Linked DNA regions of Homo sapiens: region 1 is linked to region 2. Evidence: promoter capture Hi-C in 16 types of primary human blood cells and fetal thymus (Javierre and others, 2016). All regions are on one chromosome and are shown on one strand. The core of a region is centred on a gene start or on the middle of the fragment in contact, and the rest is flanking DNA. Distances in the headings are between cores, read along the strand shown.

Evidence for each region. The method cuts DNA at HindIII sites, captures the fragments that hold promoters and counts their contacts. A CHiCAGO score of 5 or more calls a contact.
Region 1: a contact is called between a fragment that was not itself captured here and the fragment with the promoter of LINC01589 in region 2, in 1 of 17 cell types (endothelial precursors). The highest score is 5.1, in endothelial precursors.

Annotation. Positions count from the first base shown.
Region 1 is chr22:45,846,226-45,850,890 of GRCh38, forward strand. No RefSeq gene overlaps it. Among named protein-coding and RNA genes, the nearest start is that of MIR4762, 88 kb to the left of the region's middle. RefSeq lists an enhancer at 1-195. The HindIII fragment of the contact is 1,497 bases long and covers 1,149-2,645 here.
Region 2 is chr22:45,602,558-45,607,682 of GRCh38, forward strand. LINC01589 (long intergenic non-protein coding RNA 1589) reads right to left here and starts at 3,090. Exons shown (of 2, transcript NR_131244.1): 1 at 2,844-3,090; 2 at 1,875-2,201. The HindIII fragment of the contact is 5,695 bases long and covers 778-5,125 here.

The sequences.
Region 1 (4,665 bases), core at 647-3,146, 240 kb after region 2:
GAGCCAATTAAACCTCTTTTCTTTATAAATTATCTAGTCTCAAGGAGTTCTGTGTAGCAATATGAGAACGCACTAATACAACGTCCTGATTTTGTGGTTCTGTTCTTGTTTTTGTTTTTAGGAGCTAACATTGAGATGCATTTTTTTGTTGTTGTTCAGTAACTTCACAATCTAAGCATAGGGCTTTGGAAACTGCTAAAACATGTCATTTGCAAAATAGGATATAGAAAAAATGATTGAGATGATTTGGGCTACCAATTAATACGTCTTTAAATCAAATTTTTTTGTGTGCATCTTACATCCATTCTCTCTTGAAGTCATTCATGTGCTGCCCTGATAACACATGGCATTTAAGTGTTATTTAAATGATTTTTTTTTTTCGAGATGGAGTCTTGCTCTGTCACCCAAGCTGGAGTGCAGTGGCACAATCTCAGTTCACTGCAACCTCTGCTTCCCAGGTTCAAGCAGTTCTCCTGCCTCAGCCTCCTGAGTAGCTGGGATTATAATTTTTGTATTTTTAGTACAGATGGGGTTTCACCATGTTGCCAGGCTGGTCTCAAACTCCTAACCTCATGATCCGCCCTCCTTGGCCTCCCAAAATGCTGGGATTACAAGCATGAGCCACTGCGCCTGGTCTTAAAATGATTTTTTTACTGTCCTTTAGTTTCTGTCCTTGAATGAATAAACAAAGATGTTAGAACAAAAATTCCAGTCTTTGCAGGAAGAAAACTTTTTAAAAAATCTTTCATCATCAGTAAGTTCTACACATAAGTGCTTCACATGTGAAGCAGTAGAATTGAGGCGGAATTTTTAAATGCAGAAAAGTTGAGGAAGAACCTTAACATTTAAGATCTAATATAAAACCAAGCCTGTGGGGTGGGGGGGAACCAAAAAAACAACAACAAAAAAACACCCTCTCGGTGCTGTCCAAGGTTCTGATCGTTTCAGCCATATTGGCTTGTCCACATAAAATCAATTAAAAACCTTGTTTTCAAACTTCAGATTTTTTTTCTTGTGTTTGTATGACACAATATCTGTTTCCTCTTTCCTACACACTTTATATATTTATTTATATTTTGAGGTCAAATATTATGTGATACTTTGCAATATGAATTTCATATACCATCCACAATATAAATGAATTTGTAAGCTTTTGCTGTAAACATAGTGGTTATGGTATTAACTCATCCATCAGACTTTCCTCATCTCAACCAGAGACATTCCTGTCAGTGGAAATTAATTTTCACAGTTTTCCATAATTATTTATTCTTGCTTAAATTAGAAACATTATATTAAATGTTTCTTTTTGTTTAAACAACGTCATATACATTATTCATTTACTCACAAATTTCTATGCTTATTTCACATCATTGAAGCAAGGGCTTAGGCAATTTTTATCATACGGATTTAATTTTTCCACCACTTTGTAAAGTGTATTGGCCAAGAATATCAGCTCTGAAGCTAGAATTCCTGGGTTTCAGTCCCTGCTCTTTCTCCTGCTTAACCCATGGGCAGGTTCTATAAGTTCTGGGTGTCCCCATTTTCTCATTGTCAGCCCCACTGAAAATGCGGCTCATAATACCACCTGCCTGATGAGAGCACATGAGAGCACAAGCAAGTGGTTGTGTGTGAAGTGCTTAGTCCTGGTATTAATCCCATTATATGAATGAGGAAGTTGAGTCACAGAGAAGTTATGCCCAAGGACACACAGCAGTTAATGCTTAGTGATTAATTGCTATAGTTAATTGGAAGAGAATGAGTGAGAAAAAAATAGATAGCTTCTTTTCCCAGAATCGTGGAAAATTAATATAGCAGAAATGCCTGGACTATGGCTTTGGACGTTGTGTTAGTGCATTCTCGCATTGCTATACAGAACTCCCTGAGACTGGGTAATTTATAAAGAAAAGAGGTTTAATTGGCTCACGGCTCTGCAGGCTATACAGGAAGTATGGCTGGGGAGGCCTCAGGAAACTTAGGATCATGGCAGAAGGGGAAGCAGGCACGTCTTACATGGCTGGAGCAGGAGGAAGAGAGTGAGGGTGGTGGAGAAGTGCTACACACTTTTAACCAGATGTTGTGAGAACTCACTATCATGATAACAGCAAGGGTGAAATCCACCCACATGATCCAGTCACCTCCTATCAGGACATTGGGGATTACAGTTGAACATGAAAATTGGGCAGGGACACAAATCCAAACCATATCAGATGTAGAGCAAGGAGAGTGCTATGGGAAGAACATACGCTTGCAATTAGAAAAACTCAAGTTCAAATCTCAACTTCACTTGCCAGCTGTGTGGCCTTGAGCAAGTTACTTAACCACTCTGAGCCTACGTTTCCCCCTCGAGGACTGTACCATGCACTAGGGATACAACAGTGAACAAGACAGACATGGCCTCTGCTCTCATAAGGATTATCTTCTGGTGAGGGTGACAGAAAGTTATTAATAAGTGAACAAATATGTAAAACGAGAGCATTGCATATTGTAGTAAGTGCCATGAAGAAAATAGGCAAGTTGATGGTAACTGGGGTGTTCTTTTTGAGTAAAAGCCAGAAGAAGGTTGAAAAGGTGCCAGCTGTGCAAAGAATCAGAGAGAAGTGTTCTGGAAGAGGGAGCAGCAAGTGCAGAGGCCCCAAAATTGGAAAAGCTTCACCTGTTCAGGGACCAGGTGGGTGGCCAGTGGGCCCAGTGCCTGGTGGCCAGGGGAGAACATCATAAGACCAAGTCAGAGGGGTCAGCAGGAATCAGATCATGCAGGGTCTTCAAGGCCATGGGAGGAATTTGAATTTTGCTTGAAGTACACTGGGAAGCTATTGAGCCATTTTTAGCAGAGGAATGCCAAGATTCTGCTTGCACTTTTAAATGACTACTCTTGCTGCAGTGTGGAAAATGGAGAGGAGAAAGAATGAAAGTAGAGAAATTGCGTATGGGGCTGTTGATGACAGTGATCTAGACAAGCATGGTGGCAGTGGAAATGGAGAGAGAGACTTGAGTTGGAACTGTGTGTCTGAGGGAGGATCCGTAGGACAAGCTGAGGGTGGAGTGCATGAAGTCCACAAGAGTAGCTCCTGAGATCTGTCGAACAGCTGGGTGGATGATTGTCCATTCACTGGGGTGGAAAAGTTGAATGTGAAGATTGGTTCTTGTGTATGTTTTATTTGTGGCAAAGAGAATCCAGAATTCTATTTTGGGCAAATGAAGTTTGAGATGCTTTTGAGACATCCAAGTGGTGATGATTTTAAAAAGTAATTGGACCTATAAACTAGGGCTCAGAAGACAGATCAGTATTGGAAATAGATATTTGGAATGATTGGTTTTATGTATAGATGATATGAAGCCATGGAAATCAATGAGATTATCTAGGGTGAGGTTGTAGAAAGACTAGTGAAGCAGGCCTGCTGTCAACGTGTGGCCCACAGTCTAAACTTGCTCTCAACATTAGAGCATGAGGCTCCTCAGTATGCTAGAGACCCCTCAAAAAAATTGTAATGGCTTTATCACAAAAATGTACCATAATGGACTTGAGCATTCCCTTCTTTTTTAAATATATTTATGTATTGGTGGGGAGGGGGTCTTGCTCTATCACACAGGCTGAAATTCAATGCCACAACCATGGTTCCCTGCAGCCTTGAACTCCTGGGCTCAATTGATCCTCCCACTTCAGCCTCCTGAGTAGCTGGGTCTACAGGTGTGAGCCAGTGCACCCGGCTACCATTCCCTTCTTGTTAGACATTTTATTTTCTGCTTCTTATCATTAGAAATGCTGCAGTCAACATCTTAGGGCTTAAAGCCTTATCTTTGTTTTAGGTTGCATACTGTGGGAGGTCAAGGAAGGAAGATAAGGGGTTAGAGAAGATTTGTCTCAGAGAAGTAATCATATTAGAAAAGAAAAGGCACTTCCCAACTAGGTAGTTCTGACCAAACCCCTCTGAAGGCAACTGAAACACAGGTCAGAATAGTTTCAGCTACTGTTTAAAGGTACCTGGGAGCTAGCAAGACACAGCAAGGAATTACAGGGCCAGGGTCTGGGAGTGAAAAGAGGCCCAGGAAGATAAGTGTATTTGGGTTGCTGTTTCCTCTGAAAGTATTTTTCACTTCAGAGGAGGAGGCAGAGTGGCTAAGAGGCCAAAGAGTGCTTATGAGAGTCCTGGGAGCCAAGGTGGTGGGATGCTGTCCCGGTGAACCTCCATTGCTACAGGCAGGGGACCCAGTGGGCTGAATCAGAAGAGTCGCAGTGAACCGGAAGTAGTTCCTCCCAGAGACCACACTCAGTTTCCAACCATTTGCACCCCAGAAACTGAACTAAAGTTCCCCTTGTGTGCTATGACGTGTGATGTCAGTGATGCACTACATCCTGGAGTGCTGCTCACTCAGGCGTCTAGCAACAGAAATCTCAGGAAAACGGCTCTACCCTTGGTCTTGCATTATTTGTATAGTTTTTCATACGTTGTCTCAATCAAAAATAGGAGGTGACGAGACAACACGATATGAAAGTCAAAAGAAGCGATAACAAATAGAAACAAACTTAGAGGGGCTCCTGATAGTGGAGTCTTCAGGCAGGAATTTCAAATAACTTTATTCGATGTGTTTAAAGAGACAAAGGACAATATTGGAAACGTCAGCAAAAGAAGGGACACACTGTGACAGGGGGACCAAATGAAAATT
Region 2 (5,125 bases), core at 1,840-4,339:
GCCTCACACCTGTAATCCCAGAACTTTGGCAGGCCAAGGCAGGTAGATCACTTGAGGTCAGGCGTTCCAGACCAGCCTGGCCAACATGGTGAAACCTCGTCTCTATTAAAAATACAAAAATTAGCTGGGCATGGTAGCGGGTGCCTGTATTCCCAGCTATTCGAGATGCTGAGGCAGGAGAATCACATGAACCCAGGAGGTGGAGGTTGCATTGAGCTGAGATCCACTCCAGCCGGGGCAGAGGAATGAGACTGTGTCTCAAAAAAAAAAAAAAAAAAAAAAAAAAAAAGGGCAGCTAACATGGGAAGAGTGAATACAGAGCCAAGCCCCCTGCTGCTGATTGGCTTTTGAATGAGCACATGATCCAAGCTGTCCAATCAGAGTCCTGCCTCAGAGAGCCTGCCGTCTGGAGCAGAAGAGGGCAGGAGGGGCCCGCAAGTAAGCGGTGAGGGCGCCAGGTTGAGGAGCCCAGGGGAATAGAGGGAGTCCTGACCCTATCTGATTCAGAATCAGGGAGGCAAAGGCAGACCTCTCTCGGCAGGGCTAGCAGGGCGAGTCACTGCCATCGTCCGAGCTTCAGTTTCCACATCTGCAAAGTGGAGATTCCCAGATGGCAGTGAGGAGCGCTGGAGAGCATGAGTGCAAGAGGGCTTTGTGCATTGCAAAGTGCTGCATCCGTGTGTGACGGCTTATTATCATTAACCGTTAAAAGCAGCGATGACGGTGATGACGATAATGGTTGCCACTGTCAATCGAGCCACATGAACGCGCTCTGGAAGCTTGGCATCTTTTCAATCCGGCATTTCCTTTTCTTAATCATCCTGGAGAGACTTGGTAGACAGTTGTGTAAATTACCCACCAGCTTAACTCTTCATATTTCATATCATGCTATGGGTTGGGCACCTGATGGACCCATAAGTATCTCATTATACTTGCAAAGTAATTACTGTCAGAGCCTCGCATCAGCGGCATTAAGGGACCAGCTAATGGGAGCTGGAGGTGCCTCTGAGTTCCTCCACAACAGTGATTCCTTCTTAATTGTAGCCTTAGAACAAGATAACTGAGGGACATTGCTAAAGGCAAAGCAGTTTATAAGCAGCATGAGACAGCAAAACACACAGAGACACCAAGTTGAATCCTTCTTGTTGATCTGGTAGAAGAAACTTGGAGGGAAGGTCCCAGAAGGTGTCATAGAGTGGTATTCGACCAGAAAGCTGCCTGTTTTTTTTTTTTATTCCTAAGGGACATCTATTCTACTGTACAGAGGAAGTCTGTGGCATGTGTCAGAAGTGCCTGGGCTGCCCAGGGTCCTAGCAGGACCCGTTTTAACATGCAGGTGGGCATTGAGTGGAGGGTGCCAGGGCCCACCCAGCCAACCCAGCCAAGCCAGCCAACTAGAATTCGAGGAGGTAAGCCAGCTTTTCCAAAGTTCTCAAGTTTGTCCAGGTGAAAAAACACCTGGAAATCAAGGGTTTTTTTCCTAATATTGTAACATGAAAATTTTCAAATATACAGCCGAGTTGAAGGAATTTTACAGTGAATACCAGGGCACCTTCCACCTAGATTCTGCCACTGACATTTTATGAGATTCAGTTGCATTTTGAAGAAATGACAATATGATGAATTAATAAATACAAATAAGAAACTTACAGTTTCTTGTAGGCTTGCGCTCAAATCCAGCCACTTACTAGCTGTGTGTCCTTGGGCACATTGCTTAATGTCTCAGAGCCTTGGTTTTCTCTACAACGAAATGAAAATAAGGACACATACTTCACAGGAGTGATTGTTAGGATGAAAGGGGATGATTACGTAAAACAGTGCAAGAACTGCTACACAGGAGGTCCTCCATAAATAGTACTGTCATGACACACACACCCGAAAGGATAGTCTTTATTCAGTTAGATGCCACATTTTATTAAAGTCTTGTGTGGACAAGAAGTGAAACCTCAGAGGAATTTATGAAGAATAATTGGAGGCACTTCCTTGTGACTTGGCTTCATCCGGACCGGATGACTTCTGGGTGCCAGCAACAGTTCCCCATTTCCATTCACGTTTCCCCACATCGTTCATGCCAAAGAGATGGGTGCCAAGAGGCCATCCGTCTTCATCCTGGACATAGAATGAGACGGGAACTCACTCTTGAAGGACTTTTGAAGTCTCAGAGAAGAAACGGAGCCACCGTAGACCTTTTGAAATACGGCCTGTGAGAAGCACGGTGACAGTCACCATTACTACCAATAATCACATTACTCTTTGTGGGAAAAAAGACCTACTATGTGCCAGGAAGGCTTCGGTAATCATCTCCAACACACACACATTCTCTCACACACACATGTGCGCATGTGTGCACACACACACACACCACACACACACACACACACACTCCGCAGCCCTTCTGCCATGCCCAGCTCAGGGCCATCTTCTCCCACAAGGATGCCGGTCTCATCTCCTGAAATGAGGTTGCAGTGAGCCGAGATTGAGCCACTGCACTCCAGCCTGGGTGACAGAGCGAGACTCCATATAACCTCTGCCTCCTGGGTTCAAGAAACTCTTGTGCCTCAGCCTCCCAAGTAGCTGGGATTACAAGCGCGTACCACCACACCCAGCTAATATTTTTTGTATTTTTTAGTAGAGACAGGGTTTCGTCATGTTGGCCAGGCTGGTCTCGAACTCCCAACCTCAGGTGATCTGCCTGCCTCAGCCTCCCAAAGTGCTGGGATTACAGGCATGAGCCACCGCGCCCGGCCTGATCTCAGTCTTTAAGAGAGCAGCAGCTCATCTGTGGCCACTGCTTCCCAGGGACTTGCCAGAAGGGAGGTGCAGGGCACAGGGAAATAACCCACCTCTATCTGACGGCTTCAATGGTATCGAATGTCCTCAGTGGCAGCACGCAGCACAGAAGCTGAGGTGTGGCTGCATTCCATTTGGAGAATTCCACTGTGATTCATGGTGTCAGCTGCGGGTTCAAGGTGTCACAATTTAATTATTAAACATCATGAGGCATTAGGAGGCTTGGGCACGCACTGATAAGTGATCCATTTCTAACACAGCTGGTTTATTACTGTTTGTGGCAGCTCCTGCACGAATTGGTGTCCGTTAACTAAGCAATGGTATTATAATTACACATTTAAATTATGTATGGGAAGGGTGTCAGTGGTAGAAGTCAGACTGCAGTGATTACTTTCAGTCTTCAGACCTCCTGGATGTAGTCTCTCTGCAGATAGCTGTAACTCTGGCTTGTTTTCTGCTCATTTTCTGCAGACATGTAGAATCCACTGCTAGGGTCCACTGAGCTGTCTTCTGGGTGGTTTTTGGTGCTGCAGGAGATAAACACATGTGTCTTCCTGGTTGGACCCAGTTGATGCACTAACCTAATTCTGTCCTTTGCCTGCCCTGATCTCCATAGCCTGCTTCTTCCTGGAAATTTGCTGCTGCTGCTGCTTCTTTTTTTTTTTTTTTTTTTTGAGACAGGGTCTCGCTCTGTCGCCCAGGCTGGAGTGCAGTGGCGTGATCTCAGCTCACTGCAGTCTCTGCCTCCCGGGGGTTCAAACCATTCTCTCTGCCTCAGCCTCCTGTGTAGTGTGGATTACAGGCACCCCCCACCATGCCCAGCTAATTTTTGTATTTTTAGTAGAGATGGGTTTTCACCGTGTTGGCCAGGCTGGTCTCGAACTCCTGACCTCAGGTGATCCACCCGCCTCGGCCTCCCAAAGTGCTGGGTCTACAGGCGTGAGCCACCGCGCCCGGCCGGAAATGTGCTTCTTTAGAGGAAAGCACCGTTGATCCCACCTCCTTGATCTGGTTTCTAAGACCTCATACAAACTGGGCCCGTTAGTCTTTGCTCCCTGATACTATCTGATACCATCTGGTCTCACTCCTTCCTTCCCATCTTGTTCATTCATTGGTTCACTCATTCATTCACTCACTTCACGCCCTCCCTCTGGTGAATCAGTTCCCCTCTGTCCTCCCCACTCTGTCCAGTCCTCCCCTAGGCTGCCAGGTTACATTTCCAAAACTCCGATCTGATCAGGCCCTCTTGGTCTCAGATCCTCCAAGGGCTTCCTTCAAGGGCTCCTGCACCAACCTCGTGGTGTGGCTGTGTGACATAATAAGAAACATTCACTTCTATTTGGTCTCTTTCCGGGTTCCTGACACAAAGCTCCTAATCCCTTGTCTTTGGTTTAATGAGGTGACTCTCAGTGGCTCCTGGGTGGGGTTGGGGGCTGAGCACCAGAAAGACCCAGATTCGACGAGGAGCCTGGAGCTTTTGGCTCCACCCCCACCCTCCAGGAAAGGGAGAGGGGCTGGAGATTGAGCTAATAATCCATCACGCGTAAGTAATGAAGCCTCCGTAAAAATCCCTGAACTACAGGATCCAGAGAGCTTCTGGGCTGGTGGACACATCCGCATGCTGGGAGGGTGGCGCCCCCCAACTCCACGGGGACAGAAGCTCCTGTGCCCGGGCCCCACCAGAGCTCGCCCTGTGTGCCTCTTCGTCTTCCTGTTCATCTGTATCATCAATAATGTCCTTTACAAGGACATTATTGTCCTTGTGATAATGAATGAGGAAGGAATTATTCCATTCAGGAAGGAATGAGACCAGATGGTATCAGATAGTATCAGGGAGCAAAGACTAATGGGCCCAGTTTGTATAAGGTCTTAGAAACCTATACATGTAACCAAAGTGTTTCCCTGAGTTCTGTGAGCCATTTTAGCCAATTACCAAACCCGAGGAGGGCGTTCTGGGGACCCCTGATGTGTAGCCAAGTCAGACGGAAGTGTGGGTAACCTGAGCGCCCAATCTTTGCAACTGACATCTGAAGTAGGGACGGTCTTGCAGGACGGAGCCCATATCCTCTCGGGCCTGTGCTAACTCTGGGTGGCCAGCGTCAGAATTGAACTGAAGTGTAGGACGCCCAGATGGTGTCTGCAGAGAGCTGGCCGGGCGTGGTGGCTCACGCCTGTAATCCCAGCACTTTGGGAAACCGAGGCGGGCGGATCACCTGAGGTCAGGAGTTGGAGACCAACCTGGCCAACATGGTGAAACCCCATCTCTACTAAAAAAAATACAAAAATTAGCCAGGCGAGATGGTGGGTGCCTGTGATCCCAGCTACTCAGGAGGCT